Regions from separate parts of the Homo sapiens genome. Here all the other regions are linked to region 1. Evidence: promoter capture Hi-C in 16 types of primary human blood cells and fetal thymus (Javierre and others, 2016). All regions are on one chromosome and are shown on one strand. Each heading gives the region's core, a stretch centred on a gene start or on the middle of the fragment in contact. The rest is flanking DNA. Distances are from core to core; before and after follow the strand shown.

The links. Contacts are between HindIII fragments. The CHiCAGO score rates a contact against its expected background, and 5 or more counts as called.
Region 2: a contact is called between a fragment that was not itself captured here and the fragment with the promoter of DMAP1 in region 1, in 11 of 17 cell types (endothelial precursors, neutrophils, fetal thymus and 8 more). The highest score is 10.7, in endothelial precursors.
Region 3: a contact is called between a fragment that was not itself captured here and the fragment with the promoter of DMAP1 in region 1, in 2 of 17 cell types (endothelial precursors and neutrophils). The highest score is 6.7, in endothelial precursors.
Region 4: a fragment that was not itself captured here is called in contact with the fragment with the promoter of DMAP1 in region 1 in 5 of 17 cell types (endothelial precursors, megakaryocytes, M1 macrophages and 2 more); the score reaches 10.5 in endothelial precursors.
Region 5: a contact is called between a fragment that was not itself captured here and the fragment with the promoter of DMAP1 in region 1, in 3 of 17 cell types (endothelial precursors, megakaryocytes and erythroblasts). The highest score is 9.4, in endothelial precursors.

What each region holds. Positions count from the first base shown.
Region 1 is chr1:44,212,154-44,214,795 of GRCh38, reverse strand. It overlaps DMAP1 (DNA methyltransferase 1 associated protein 1), which reads right to left and starts at 1,325. Exons shown (of 10, transcript NM_019100.5): 1 at 938-1,325; 2 at 355-446; 3 at 1-93. The coding sequence starts at 1,042. RefSeq lists enhancers at 1-481, 1,247-1,486, 1,225-1,519 and a silencer at 1,917-2,016. The HindIII fragment of the contact is 5,612 bases long and covers 1-1,771 here.
Region 2 is chr1:44,635,199-44,637,840 of GRCh38, reverse strand. It overlaps RNF220 (ring finger protein 220), which reads right to left. Exons shown (of 15, transcript NM_018150.4): 7 at 2,253-2,296; 8 at 1,679-1,811. It overlaps LOC107984950 (a long non-coding RNA gene), which reads left to right. Exons shown (of 2, transcript XR_001738031.2): 2 at 1,384-2,603. Among named protein-coding and RNA genes, the nearest start is that of SNORD145, 35 kb to the left of the region's middle. The HindIII fragment of the contact is 4,145 bases long and covers 1-2,642 here.
Region 3 is chr1:44,613,777-44,616,418 of GRCh38, reverse strand. It overlaps RNF220 (ring finger protein 220), which reads right to left. Exons shown (of 15, transcript NM_018150.4): 3 at 2,122-2,254. Among named protein-coding and RNA genes, the nearest start is that of SNORD145, 56 kb to the left of the region's middle. The HindIII fragment of the contact is 7,670 bases long and covers 1-2,642 here.
Region 4 is chr1:44,577,697-44,580,338 of GRCh38, reverse strand. The region is part of intron 2 of RNF220 (ring finger protein 220); the gene reads right to left. Among named protein-coding and RNA genes, the nearest start is that of MIR5584, 34 kb to the right of the region's middle. The HindIII fragment of the contact is 6,321 bases long and covers 1-2,642 here.
Region 5 is chr1:44,556,719-44,559,360 of GRCh38, reverse strand. All of the region lies in intron 2 of RNF220 (ring finger protein 220), which reads right to left. Among named protein-coding and RNA genes, the nearest start is that of MIR5584, 13 kb to the right of the region's middle. The HindIII fragment of the contact is 1,696 bases long and covers 454-2,149 here.

The sequences.
Region 1 (2,642 bases), core at 76-2,575:
CACTTCCAAGGCCGCACCTTCTTGGAGCCCAACTTGGCCTTCACTGTACGGTATCCCTGGCCAGTGTCACTGGGTAGCAGTGGGGGTGCATCCCTGGCAGGGAGGTTTAGGGAGATGCGAGGTTAGAATCAGAAGGTGTGTTAAAGAGCTTTTTGTCCCAGGGAGCTGATCTACCCTACCCTATAGCAAGAAAGTCATGTCCTGGAGCAAAAGACTTCAGGTCCTCCTGCATCCTGCTAAGCAAGCAGGAGCCCTTGCTGGGGAGGAGAAAATTGTTAGAGAAAACTAGGAGTTAGGGGCATGGCAGGTGAATCAGGGGCCAAAACCTGGGGGACTTGGGACTCCAATACTTGCTTCTTGTCAGAGTAGAGCAAGGCATAGACTTCCCGGTGCATGCCCTCGGGCCTCTTGAAAGTCAGTGTCTCAGAGGACTTCTTGGATTTTTTCTGAGGAAGGAAACCACAGAAAGGAACCACAACCTAGACCCTTTCCTGAAAATTCTTTAGTCCAGCTCAATCCCTGAACAAAGCAGCACCTACAGGGTCAATGACAGGCAAACTGACACACTGTAAAGGCACAGAAACCCACTCCCAGGAACACCATCCTACGCCCAAATCAGAGCAGTCCCCTCCCCATCCCACCAACTCTCAGACTGTTACAATGTCTTGATCTCTCCCCAACAATATCTTGCAAAAATCACACTTGCCTGGTCCTCTCAGCTCTTAGAGGTGTCATACCCTCTTGGTCCCACCATCTCCCACGATGTCCCATCTCCTCCCTCCCATCAAGGATGACACATATTCCCTGTCCTGTTATGTCACCCCTTTTATCGCCCAACTCACTGTAAGTGTAGCACCCATCCCTTGCCCGTTGTCACTCCTCCCCATCTTCACTCCCCTACCCTCCCCTAGTCAACGCTTTCAGGTGCCCCTGCTACCTTGTCCGGGTTGATAATGTCCTTCTTGCTGATGGTCCCAGAGGCTGCATCCCCTTCTGGACCCCCGAGTTCTAGAATGTCCCGTACATCCGCGCCCGTAGCCATCGCGCCTGAGAGATGGGGGAGCCACCGGAGGTCAAGGGTCAGTGCCTGAAGAAGGACCAGGCTCAGGTCAGGGGGCGGGGCCAATCCAGACCTAAGCGGAGGCGAGTTGAAGGGGCGGGCCAAGAGGAGAAGGGTGGTCCAGGTCAGGTCGGGGATCTGCCTGTGCCCCACCGCTTGGATGTTCCTAACGGCCCCTTCAGCCACCTGGGCCCTCGCACTTCCGCACCTGGGTCCGGCAGCTGCAGCCCCCACTACCACTCCCCCGTCCCCGCAAAGCCGCGGCAGAAACTTCCGGCGGTGCTCATTCGGAACGCGGCCGACAGAAACACTTCCGGTCGGTGTTGTAGGAAACGAAGCCGACTGGCAACCGAGGGTGAAAGCTACTGGCCGTGCTGAGCTTGCCACCCTTTGGTTCTCCCGCGAGCCTGTTTTCATTGGTGCACTGCCTGCTTTCTGGCATTTTCCCTCTACGATGCTCCGTTGCGTCTCAGGCAGTGAAGAGATACCAGAACTTTGTGACTTTGGGAAGTCACTTAATTTCTCTGGACCTTTTTCTTTATTTGCCGAATGGAAATTGTAATGGCACCTGTGTAAATGAAATACCAAGAATCCTTGTAAAACATTAGCACGGTGCGTGGGACATTTACTATTTTTTTATTAAATGAGTTAATGATTTGAATTGCCCCCTCTTCATTAAGTGCTAATATGTACTAGGCACTGTGCTAAGCTTGGAGGTGAAGAGATAAACTTCAAATTGTGATAAGCTTGAAGATGAAGAAATAAAGGCAGAGCTTCCTAGGGCGGCTGCCAAAATGGAGTAAGGTGTGGGCCCTCATTTGCACCTCCTCTGATGGAGATAGCTGTGGGTTGTGGCCTCGTGGGGATTTCCTGGAGGCCAGCTTCGTGGCACTTCACTAGTACAGGAGCTAGCTGCACTCTTTGGGCTACGAAGAAGCCCAAAACACAGCCCCAAGCAGGAACCAGCTTAGAAGTATCCCTCAAGGGAATAAACCTGGGGATCTTCCTGGAAAGAGAGAGACAGGAGGTCCTGAGGAAGGGCACAAGGGACAAGGAAAGCAGCTCCCAGCTTCAGCAGTCTGCAAACCAGCCTGTCAATTTGAAGGACACATAGCCTGTGGGATAGGGTGGGGCTTGTTAAGGCATTAAGAAGGCCAGACCCCAAGTCGAGACCTGCCAAAGATACCAGCAGGGACTAGAGGAGCAGACAGTTTGCGCAAGTTAGCTATAAGTGGTGTAGCCTGTTCTGGCCTGGAGAAGACAAGGGGATACAACAGCTGTAGCCACAAGCCTGACTAGTCCCCAAAACTTTGGAGAACTAGGCCTGGAGGTACAAACCTGTTCCTGGGTCTGATTCCTGGATGGATCCACTGAGCTCCAAACAGTTGCCGGAGGAAGTCACAGTCTTACAGCAGAAATTGTCCACAGGGTAAGGAAATGGTCCTTGGAGCCAGAAAGGGAGAGAGCAATTGGCTGCCTGAAACACTTGACCCTAGTTGTAGTTAATTAATTGTGTAATTACTTGTTTAATATATATCTCTAATAGACTCATTTCTGTGAAGACAGGGATCACAGTACATAA
Region 2 (2,642 bases), core at 88-2,587, 420 kb before region 1:
TCTCACTCTCATTCTCGCTCTCCAAATCGCTCAAAGAAAAGCCCCCTTTGAACTCCCCTCAGGAATTCTTGAAAGGAACAACCTCACAGTGTAAACACTCAGGGAAAACGGATACCCGCCCGGGGCCTAAGAGCCCCTCACACTGCTGTGCAAGTGCATCCCGGCACAGGGGAAATACTCTTGTCAAATCAGCAGGCCCTTTGCAGCTTTATCCTCCATAAGCCCTGTCTGGTGCCCAGAAGCCATCAGGTCCAGGTCTGTGCCAAGGAACCTAAGAAGGTGCCACAGCAATGGAGGATGTGAGCAGTTGCAGCTGCCAACAGAGCTAACCAGAGCAGCACGTTGAAACTGACCCTGTGTGGCTGCCATCGGACACCCATGTGTCCAACTCATGGGACAGTCGTCAGCCCTGCTGCTCACTCTTCTAGGGCCTCAGATACTCGAAGGCTCCAGTACGGGATGAGTGAAATGGCAAACTAACACTCTCCAGCTCCGGCTCAGGGAGACTGTTTGGTCTGACTAACCTTCCTGATTTATGTTTTGGCTTGCCCCCAAACACCTGGGTAATGTGAGAGACGCCCAGAGGCATAATGTCTCATCTGGGCTCTTAGCCCCTTCGTGGAACCAGTCTGCACTGGACGGCCCTGCAGAGACCACTCCTCAGCATCTGCCCAGGTAGCACGGCCCCACGAAGGCAGAGAACTTCTTCCCAGCTGCTGTGAGATTCCCCAGGGACCATACACAGCAGTATTCCCAAAGGTGTTGCCCAGAGAGAGAGGCAGACGGGAAGCAGATTGGCTCACTTAATGACCACAAGCTGCAGTACCAGCTGTGCTTGTGCACAGAAAGAGAGAAGAGCTGGAGGCCAAGAGGCAGACAGCTCCCCTTTTCCCCTGCCCAAGGCTGGGGAGTTTAACAAGTCACTAACCCTGGGCACCCAACCAATTCTGCTGTCTGACCTGGTGGGGGGTGTCAAGCCTTGCTCTTCCAAGGAGCTGGGAGGGCACTGGAGATGGGCAGGGCCCTGCACACTCCTTTGTAGCAACTGGGGAGAGCCCAAGGGAAGGAGGGAGCAGCTGGGCCCAGGCCCCTCTTGCTTCAGGGCAGAGGGCGCCCAGGGAGAAGGGATGGGATCAGAGCTAAAATTAGATTCACCAATGAAGCTCATGGGAGGTCAAATTTTGCCATAACTCACTCTCCTCTGTAACTGATTTCCCTGACATAGGGCTGAAGAGGAGGAGGAGGAAAATCCAATGTGTTTGCCTGGAAGCCCTCAGGGCCCCCAGTGCTGGAGGTGTACAGCAGGTTGCTGGATTCTCATTTATCAGCCTTAAGAGGGATGGAGTGATAAATGCATAACCGTCCCTTTAATATTTTATGCAGGTGCTAACGCGGCTTGGCTGTCACCTTCAATGCATCACCCGAAGCTGAGAGCCCCCCTTCGTCACTCCTAGCTTGCAGCCTCACAATTCCATTTCCCCACCCAAATACATCCATTTTAATATGCACATCACAGGCAGGCAGCACGGTCACAAAGGAGCCCCACCAGCAGCAGTCCCCACGTGGTGGAACGGATGGATGACCAGCCACCAGCCTCGGCCTCTTGGCTTCCAGCAGATGGATACCCAGCAGAGGCCTGGCACCAGAGTGCCAATGTCTACGTGTCAGCTGCTTGTACCTCGGAAGCCACCTTCCAGGAGAGTGGTGGCCCGTATCCGCTTCTGTCCACACCACTCATACTCCTCAAAGCGGTTGTTGTTCTCATGCTCGATGTCCACAGCATCATCCTCAGCCATGCAGGAGCCTTCCCTCTGTGAAGAGCAGAGCAGGATCATGCTGGGCCCAGGCCATCCCCACCTGCTCCCCACAGTCTGCAACGAAGGCACAGCTCTAGCCCCAGCTGTGGTGTGCCAAGTGGGCCCTCAGCTCTAGGGCTCCTTTGAAGCAAACCAATTTAGAGGTCAAAGACCTGGGCCTCTTCCCAATAGTTTTCCGCTGGAGCCCAAGGAGGGAATGAGTGAGAGTGAAAGCAAAAGGAGAGAGCAGTGGTCAGAAGGGAAGAAGCTGCTGAGACCACATGGAGACCCCAAGAGCCCACAGATTCAGGGGCAGTCAGCAGCTAGTGTCGGGGGAAGGGAGCGGGGAAGGAAGGTGGGTGGTGATGGCCCCTCTACCTTAGAAAGGCAATGCTCCACATGCCTACTCATCTCCTGCTCCGATCCTGCCAGGGGGCGGTTGCACAGGGGACATACCTGCCCTTCATCTTGCTTCCTCCGTTTCATTTTCCCAATCCGAGCTGCACGGGGAAACCGAAAACAAAGCACAGAACAAGCAGACGGTCACTGCAGCCCCCAGGGTCCCAGTGGAGCTGACACATCCTGACCTCTTGCCAGCCATTGGCCTTTTTATTCAGTGCCTGATCTGGCCCTCATCTTGAAATACCTCCTGCTCCTTTGGGGACTGGGCTTTGCCAAGAGCACCTGGGGAGGAGACTGGTGCTAACTAAGCCAGTGAGTAAGTCCACTCTTTGGCTGCAGCTGGTGCAAGGTCTACCCATACCTTTCTATTTGCAGTGTTTAATAAAAATCCAGTGAGCAAAGACACTCCATGTTGCTAGGTATCTCTCCAGAAGGCCAAGACCA
Region 3 (2,642 bases), core at 97-2,596, 400 kb before region 1:
TGTGAAGATTAAATAAATTAATGCAATGTAAAGTACTCGGCACATAGTGAGCATTCAACAAGGATTATTATTATTATCACTGGTATAGTCTTATATGCCCATGGATTCTTTCATACTCCTCCCTTCAATGGGTAGAGCTTCTAGAGCTTAATTCTTCTCCCTTGAGAATGAGCTGGACTTGACAACTTGCTCCTAGTGAACAGAATAGAATAGAATAGAGTAGAAGCAACAGTGTGTGACTTCCCAGACTAGATCATAAGAAGCACTGTGGCACCCTCCTTAGTCTTCTCTTGGACTGCATGCTCTGTGGGAAGTCAGCTGCCATGTCATAGGGAAATTCAAGCTGTCCTATGCAGAGACCCACATGTGGGGGAACTGAGGCCTCCTGCCAACAGCCATGTGAGTGAGCATCTTGGAAGCAGATCCTGCAGTCCCAGTCAGATCTTCAGATGACCGTTGCCTTGGTTGACATCTTGACTGCAGCTTCATGAGAGACTCCCAGCCAGTAGCCACTACTACCCACAACCATCCAGCTAAGCTGTTCCTGAATTGATGACCACAGAAACTGAGATAATACATGTATGTTGTTTTAGCTGCTAGGTTTTAGGGTAGTTTGTAACACAGCGATAGATGACTAAATATTTCTTCCTTCAAAATTCAGCTCAGGCCTTACCTTCTGAGGAAGCCTTCTTTGCTCTGTGCTGGGTTTGGTGCCTCCTTGATACCCCCAAGCTCCAGTTCTTCCCGTATAGCAGTCTCCATCCCTCTGGGTTTGTACTGCCTGACCCTCCCTACCCTCATGCTATGAACTTCCAAGGGCAGGGACCATTCTGATTCACTATGGGATCCCCTGCACCTTGCATGGGGATTCGGTAAGAAGGTAGAAGGAAGGAGGATCAGTCAAGTCTGATGACTTGAACTGAATAAGGGTCGGACTGGGAGGAGCGGGGCAGACCGTCCCTCAGTAGCAGATTATATTTTCCAAAGACAGCATCAACCATATCTTCCATCCCACATACGTTTCTACAATTTGACCTTGCCAGTCCTCCCATCAAAAGGGGGGTGTATGTCCTCTCCCCTTGAATTCTGGGTGGTCTAATACTGCCTCAATCAATAGAATACAGTGGAAGTGAGATTCAGTGACTTTCAGGCTAGGTTATAAAAGGTGATCCAGCTTCCATCTCGTTGGCTGGAACATTTGCTTTTGGAGCCCAAAGCTGCCATGCAAGAAGTCCAACCATCCCGAGGTTGGCAAGCTATGAGGAAGCCCAGGCCACATGGAGAAGCCCTGTGTAGGTGCTTTGATTCCAGCCTCAGCTGAGGTCCCAGCTGACAGCCAGCATCAACCCCCAGACATGTGAGGGAAGCAGCCTTCACATGACCCAGCTCCCAGCCACCAAGTCTTCCCAGCTAAGGCCCCAGACATCATGGAGCAGACATCAGCCATCTCCTCTGTGCCTTATCTGAATTCCTGACCTCACAGATTCCACGAGCACAATGAAATGGTTGCTTTAAACTGCTAAGATTTTAGGTAATTTGTCACACCTCTCCTCTACTCTTTTTGATAACCTGGCTCCTCCACCAGGCCCTTGAGGAGGCTCAGCCCAGTCCTTCAGGCAGGGACAAGGGAGGGAGGCTGGGGGTGAGGTGGGGTGGGACAGTGGGGGACACACCTGAGCACATTCTTAAGATTGTCATCTTTCAGACACTGAGATTCATAGAGAAGGTAGTGTCCACCCCACTGGAGGAAGGACTTGGCTGCACTTCTGAGGGGCCTGCCAGGCCTAGGACCTGCTGCTTTTATTCTGCTCTGAGGCTCAACATGGCAGTGCTGGGCCTTTGGCAGTGGCTCACCCCTGTCTAGCTCCTCTCATGTTTTCCTTTGAGGCTGGGGCCTGCGGGGTCACTCTCCTCCCATCTCCAAAAATAGAGCAAGAAGAGGAAGGTGGCTCCATTCAGCGGAAAGATCTGAGGATTGAAACAGAGTTGTGGAGAAGGGTGGCAGGGTCCTGTCTTTTCCCGAGGGGCTGGGGTATGGGCCAGGCGGCTGCTTCTGGGATCCGGTGGCCAGAACCCTGAGTGGACTCCTCCAGCAGGCAGGCTCCCTGGGAGGTGGCTTACCTCGAGGGCAGTTGGGCTAGCTGCTCCAGTTCCTGCTCCATATGCTCCTGCAGCTCACTGGGCCTCAGCAGGACCTGGCAGATGGGGCAAATTGGGGCCTGGCTGTCGAACAATGCCGCTGCTTTCTTCTTACCTAGTGAGGGGAGAAGAACAGACAGACGCGTAAGCTGGGCTAGTCCAGGAGGCAGACCCAGCATCCCAGTCCTGAAACCCAAGCCTGCTGCTGCCCTCTAGGGCTTCTTGGCCTAGAGGAGGGGCCTGAGGGTTTCAGAGCCCACGAGCACCCCTCCTCCTTGCAGCTCCAGAGGCTGTGGCCATGAATGGTACCTCCTCAGCCAGCCACCCCTCTCAGAAATCTATTAGGACACATCCCCCATGGGATGTCTATTTTTTTTTCTTTTTTAAATTAATTAATTAATTTGAGACAGAGTCTTGCTCTGTTGCCCAGGCTGGAGTACAGTAGCGTGATCTTGGCTCACTGCAACCTCTGCCTCCTGGGTTCAAGTGGTTCTCCTGCCTCA
Region 4 (2,642 bases), core at 53-2,552, 370 kb before region 1:
ATAGGCACTCCAGTTCTATTCTGCTGAGAACATTAGGCCCATTTTCTATTGTCATGGTGGGAAAAGGGGAAAAAAGCACAGCATCTGGAGTTGGAGGCCCAAGGTTCAAAATCCCAGCTTCATTATGTAATAGCAACAGGAATTTGAGTAAGTTTCTTCATCTTTTTGAGATTCAGTTTCTTTATCCTAACACTAGATGAAGGGACAACCTTCTCCATGGAACAATTTCTTCTTTCTTTCTTTCTTTTTCTTTTCTTTTCTTTCTTTCTTTCTTTTCTTTCTTTTTTTTTTTTTTTTTTTTTTTTTTTGTGAGACAGGGTCTTGCTCTGTTGCCCTGGCTGGAGTGCAGTGGCATGACATGGCTCACTGCAACCTCTGCCTCCTAGGCTCAAGTGATCCTCTCACCTTAGCCTCCCAGTAGCTGGGACTACAGATGCACGCCACCACACCTGGCTAATTTTTTGGTATTTTTTATAGAGATGGATTCTCACCATGTTGCCCAGGCTGGTCTCAAACTCCTGGACTCAAGCAATCTACCCACCTCAGCCTCCCGAAGGCTTGAGCCACCATGCCTGGCCTGGAACAACTTCTTCAGGACATGGTCCAAAGATAGGTCAGGACCTCAGTGGGGACTTACTTAAGCAGAGGAGGTCAGCAGAAGTCACAGTATGAGGAGAGGAGCAGAAAGAATAAACAATATCCACAAATAGCTGGTTGTCTCGGATGAGTGTCCAGAACCAACTGTCCCAAAGTCCTAGCAAATAGCTTCAAGTACACAGTTTTCCCCATTCTTGCCCTTAGACAAACAGGCTCACATGTAAGAGGCTGCTTGCCCCAGTGATGGAGCCACCCTGTTCTTAGGCCCCACAGCGCCAGAACTCAAGAGTCAAAGCTCAGACTGGGGGTCCAAGTCTAGGGAGAGATTAAGATGCAGCACACTAGCACTTAGTAAAGCAACTAGTGTTGATTTCCATCAAGCCTCCCTGTCCTTTCTTTGCTCAGACTCCTCGGTAGTCTGGGTCTGAGTCTTGGTCCTACTGCTCAGTGACTGTGTGGTCTTGGTCAAGTTACTTAAGCCCCTCTGCCTGCTTCTTCATTTGAAATATGCAGTTAGTCTACCCATCTCTTGGTTGTTATGAAGATTGCATGATTTTCTTTCTTTCTTTTTCTTTTTTTTTTTTCTGAGACAGAGTCTCGATCTGTCACCCAGACTGGAGTGCAGTGGCGTGATCTCGGCTCACTACAACCACTGCCTCCTGGGTTCAAGTGATTCCCCTCCCTCAGCCTCCCGAGTAGCTGGGATTACAGGCGCCTGCCTGTAATTTTTTTGTATTTTTAGTAGAGTTGGGGTTTCGCTGTATTAGCCAGGATGGTCTCAATCTCCTGACCTCGTGATCCACCCGCCTCGGCCTCCCAAAGTGCTGGGATTACAGGCGTGAGCCACCGCACCCGGCCTGAGGATTGCATGATTTTCTGTGTGGAAAACAGAATAAAGAATGTTGGGCACACTGTGAGCACTCAATAAATATTAGCTACTGTTATTATCCCACTCTCAGGATATTTGTGAAGATCAAGGATGCTAAACCATAGGCAGGTGTCATTCTTGGCAAACTATCAGGGTCTGTGGTCTGTGGGAGTGATTAGAGTTGTTGATCAGTGTCTCTTCTCCCAAACTGGACATTGTCCTCCAGGTGGATCTACCGCTACCTGACAAGTGCAGAGTGGAACAGAACTCTCTATCCCCTGAAGTGTTCTGGGATCCAAATAATAGTAGATGCATGGGGGCCCATAGCACTTGCCGACTTCTTTCTTCTAAATTTACTATCAAATAACCCCCAGAGCTTCTCTTCAGCTTAGCCTTCCTTCCCTTGGCATGGACTCAAATTGAAATACTTATCCCACTGGCCAGGCGCGGTAGCTCATGCCTGTAATCCCAGCACTTTGGGAGGATCACTTGAGGCCAGAGTTCAAGACCAGCCTGGCCAACATGGTGAAACCCCATCTCTACTAGAAATACAAAAAATGAGCTGGGCATGGTGGCCCACGCCTGTAATCCCAGCTACTTGGGAGGCTGAGGTCAGAGAACTGCTTGAACCCGGCAGGTGGAGGTTGCAGAGAGCCAAGATTGCACCACTGCACTCCAGGCTGGGAGACAGAGCACGACTCTGTCTCAACAAAAAAAAAAAAAAAAAAAGGAAAGAAAGAAAGAAAGAAAGAAAATCCCAGTTGCATTCATCTGGTTGGAAGATTCTACCCATCATCTGAGCCACTTTGGGAGGCTGAGGTGGGAGGGTTGTTTGAGCCCAGGAATTCAAGACCAGCCTGGACAACATGGTGAGGCCCTGTCTCTACAAAAAATCTAAAAATTAGCTGGGACTGGAGGCTGAGGTAAGAGGATCACTTGAGCCCAGAAGGTCAAGGCTGCAGTGAGCTGTGATCATGCCATTGCACTCCAGCCTGGGGGATAGGGTGAGACCCTTTCTCAAAAAAAAAAAAAAAAGGCATTTGACACGCCCAACTAATTTTTGTATTTTTAGTAGAGATGGGGTTTCACCATGTTGGCCAGGTGGGTCTCAAACTCCTGACCTCAAGTGATCCACCCGCCTCGGCCTCCCACAGTGCTGGGATTATAGGCGTGAGCC
Region 5 (2,642 bases), core at 52-2,551, 340 kb before region 1:
ACCTGGCATCCTGGCTATTGGCTGCTCCTGTCAGCACCTGCCCTGCTAGGGCCGAGGGGAAGCCCTGCTTCCACAGAACAGCGTGGCAGTGTGAATAAAACTCCTGGGATACCCAAGCATCTGGAAGGCTGAGGACTGGGGCTGGGGGATGTTGGAGCCATCACCACTGAAGGAAGTTCTGGAGGCAAGGTGGAAAGGGCAGGGGAGTAGGGGAGAACTAGAAAGCAAGTGAGGTTCTGGAGCGAGAAGGCAAGTTTAATGAGCACTTACTATGTGTTGCGCATTGGGCTAGGCGCTAGGGACAAAACACTGAACAAAACTATCATTGTCTCTGCCCTCACGGAGTTGCCTTCTAACAGGAAAGGAACACATTACACAAACAATTGCCTAAACAACAGCTGTGAGGGAAAGAACTGGCTTTATGGGAATGCATCATGGGGGCTGGAGAAAGCTTCCCTTAGGAAACGAACTTTAAGCTAAGGTCTGAAAAAGTTGGGTTGAGACAGGTGACAGGTAACCTAGAAGAGACCAAAACAGTCCAATAACTGATCTCTTTCACCGGGGCTATAACATGTCATGTTGATTGCTATATGTTGAGATCATGTAAGGTGGTGGCAAAAAACACAGGCTTTGGAGTAAGACACACCTAGGTCTGAATTCTAGCTCCGTAAACTTTCTAGCTGCGTGATCTTGGGGGAGGTTGTTTAACCTCTCTGCTTCATTTATCATTTATCAAATGGAGTAAAAATACTCACCTTGCAGGGCTGTTGTAAGGATTAAAGTTGATACTCAATATAAAGGATGTATATAAAGCACCTGGCATATAGGACATGTTTAATATGCAGTAGATGCTACCACTAATGGTACTATCATATGTGTCTATTTCTTCCCCAAGCCTACTAGGAGGTCTTTGAAGGTTTAGACAAAGTCTTACACATTTTATATCTGATTGAATTAGACAGGGAGCAGTGGAAAAGATTCTGATATTTCACCTGGTGCCAGAAAAGAGCCCTAGGCATCCAGCCAAAGGTATGGCCCTTGGTGTGCATACGCATATACAGTGGGGGCTGGGCCATAGATGTTATTCTCTATTCTCCAGCATCCTTTTGGATTTAGTTGGCAGGATGATTTCAGGGCAAAAGGGTACAGACTCAATTAAATGTGGGCAAGTGCAAGGCAATGCCTTTTGTGATGAACACATCAAAACCCCCTCTCCAGTGCTCAACTCTGCATGGTCAGCCACGGTTCTGGCAAAGGACCTAGAAATCCTTCTTCATTTAGACAGTTCCCTGAGGCTGTTGGCCAAAAGGCTAAGAGAACTGTGAATAAGATGTGACGGAAGAAGGAGAACATGTTCCTTGAGGTGCCCAGCTGGAACAGTCCTACCCGCAGGGCTCAGCCGTGGCACTCTGTCCCACCCTGGAGAAGACGCAGGGCATGCAAAAGCTCCTCAGTGGGGAAGGGTCGATGACTCACCACCCAGTCTGGAAGTGAGAAGGCTGGTGGGGGATGTGAAGGAAATCACAAATCACAAATGGTGTAGAGAAGGTGACTAGAAACTTATTCACAAGATCCTGAAACTGTAGGCAAAGTGGGTTTGCTTTGAAACTCGAACACATTTGGGATGAATAAAGGTGATTTTATACCGTGGCCAGTGAACTTAAGAAATTCATTCTCCCAAATGGTGGGTCTAGCAGAAAACATAAATGAATTTAAACATCTTTGGACAAATTTATGAGACACAGTCATGTACATCCCTTAATCAGTTTGTTCAGTGAATGAATGAATGAATGAACGAGTGAATATGGATGATCCTAGTTTTCAAGGTATTTCAGTTCAGAGTGCCTACTATGAGCAAAGCATTGTGCAAGATGTAAAAATGAACAGTTTCGCTCTCCTTCCTTCCTTCCTTCTTTCCCTCCCTCTCTCCCTCCCTCCCTCCTTCCTTCCTTCCTCTCTCTCTTTCTTTCCTTCTCTTTCTTTTTCTTCCTTTTTTCCTTTTTGACAGGGTCTCACTATGTTGCCCAGAACTGGTCTAGAAAGAATACCTAGGCTCAATCGATGCTCCCATCTCAGACTCCCAAAGTGCTGGGATTACAGGTGTGAGTCACCTCGCCCAGCCAACACAAACAGTTTCTATCAAGAAGCTTATATATATATATATAAAATATATATTATATATTAATATATACATATGTATATATATTATATATACATACGTATATAAAATATATATACATATATACATATACATACATATATACACATATATATGTATGTGGATTGAGAAAGAAGCTCCTTCAACTCAGCCCCTAGAGAGATGCAGAATGAGGGCCCAGGGTCCCCTATTAGCGGAGGGATTGTTTCAGCCATTTCGGGCACCCTGGGGTTCTCACTGGGCAAAGACATTCAGCTCAGTGATATAGTGAGCACCATGGGTTCCCCTCCCTGTCTAGCAACATCTGTAAAGAGGAGAACTTTGCTTAAAAATGAACAGGAAGAGGCCGGGCGCGGTGGCTTACGCCTGTAATCCCAGAACTTTGGGAGGCCGAGGCTGGTGGATCACAAGGTCAGGAGATTGAGACCATCCTGGCTAACACAGTGAAACCCCGTCTCTACTAAAAAATGGAAAAAATTAGCAG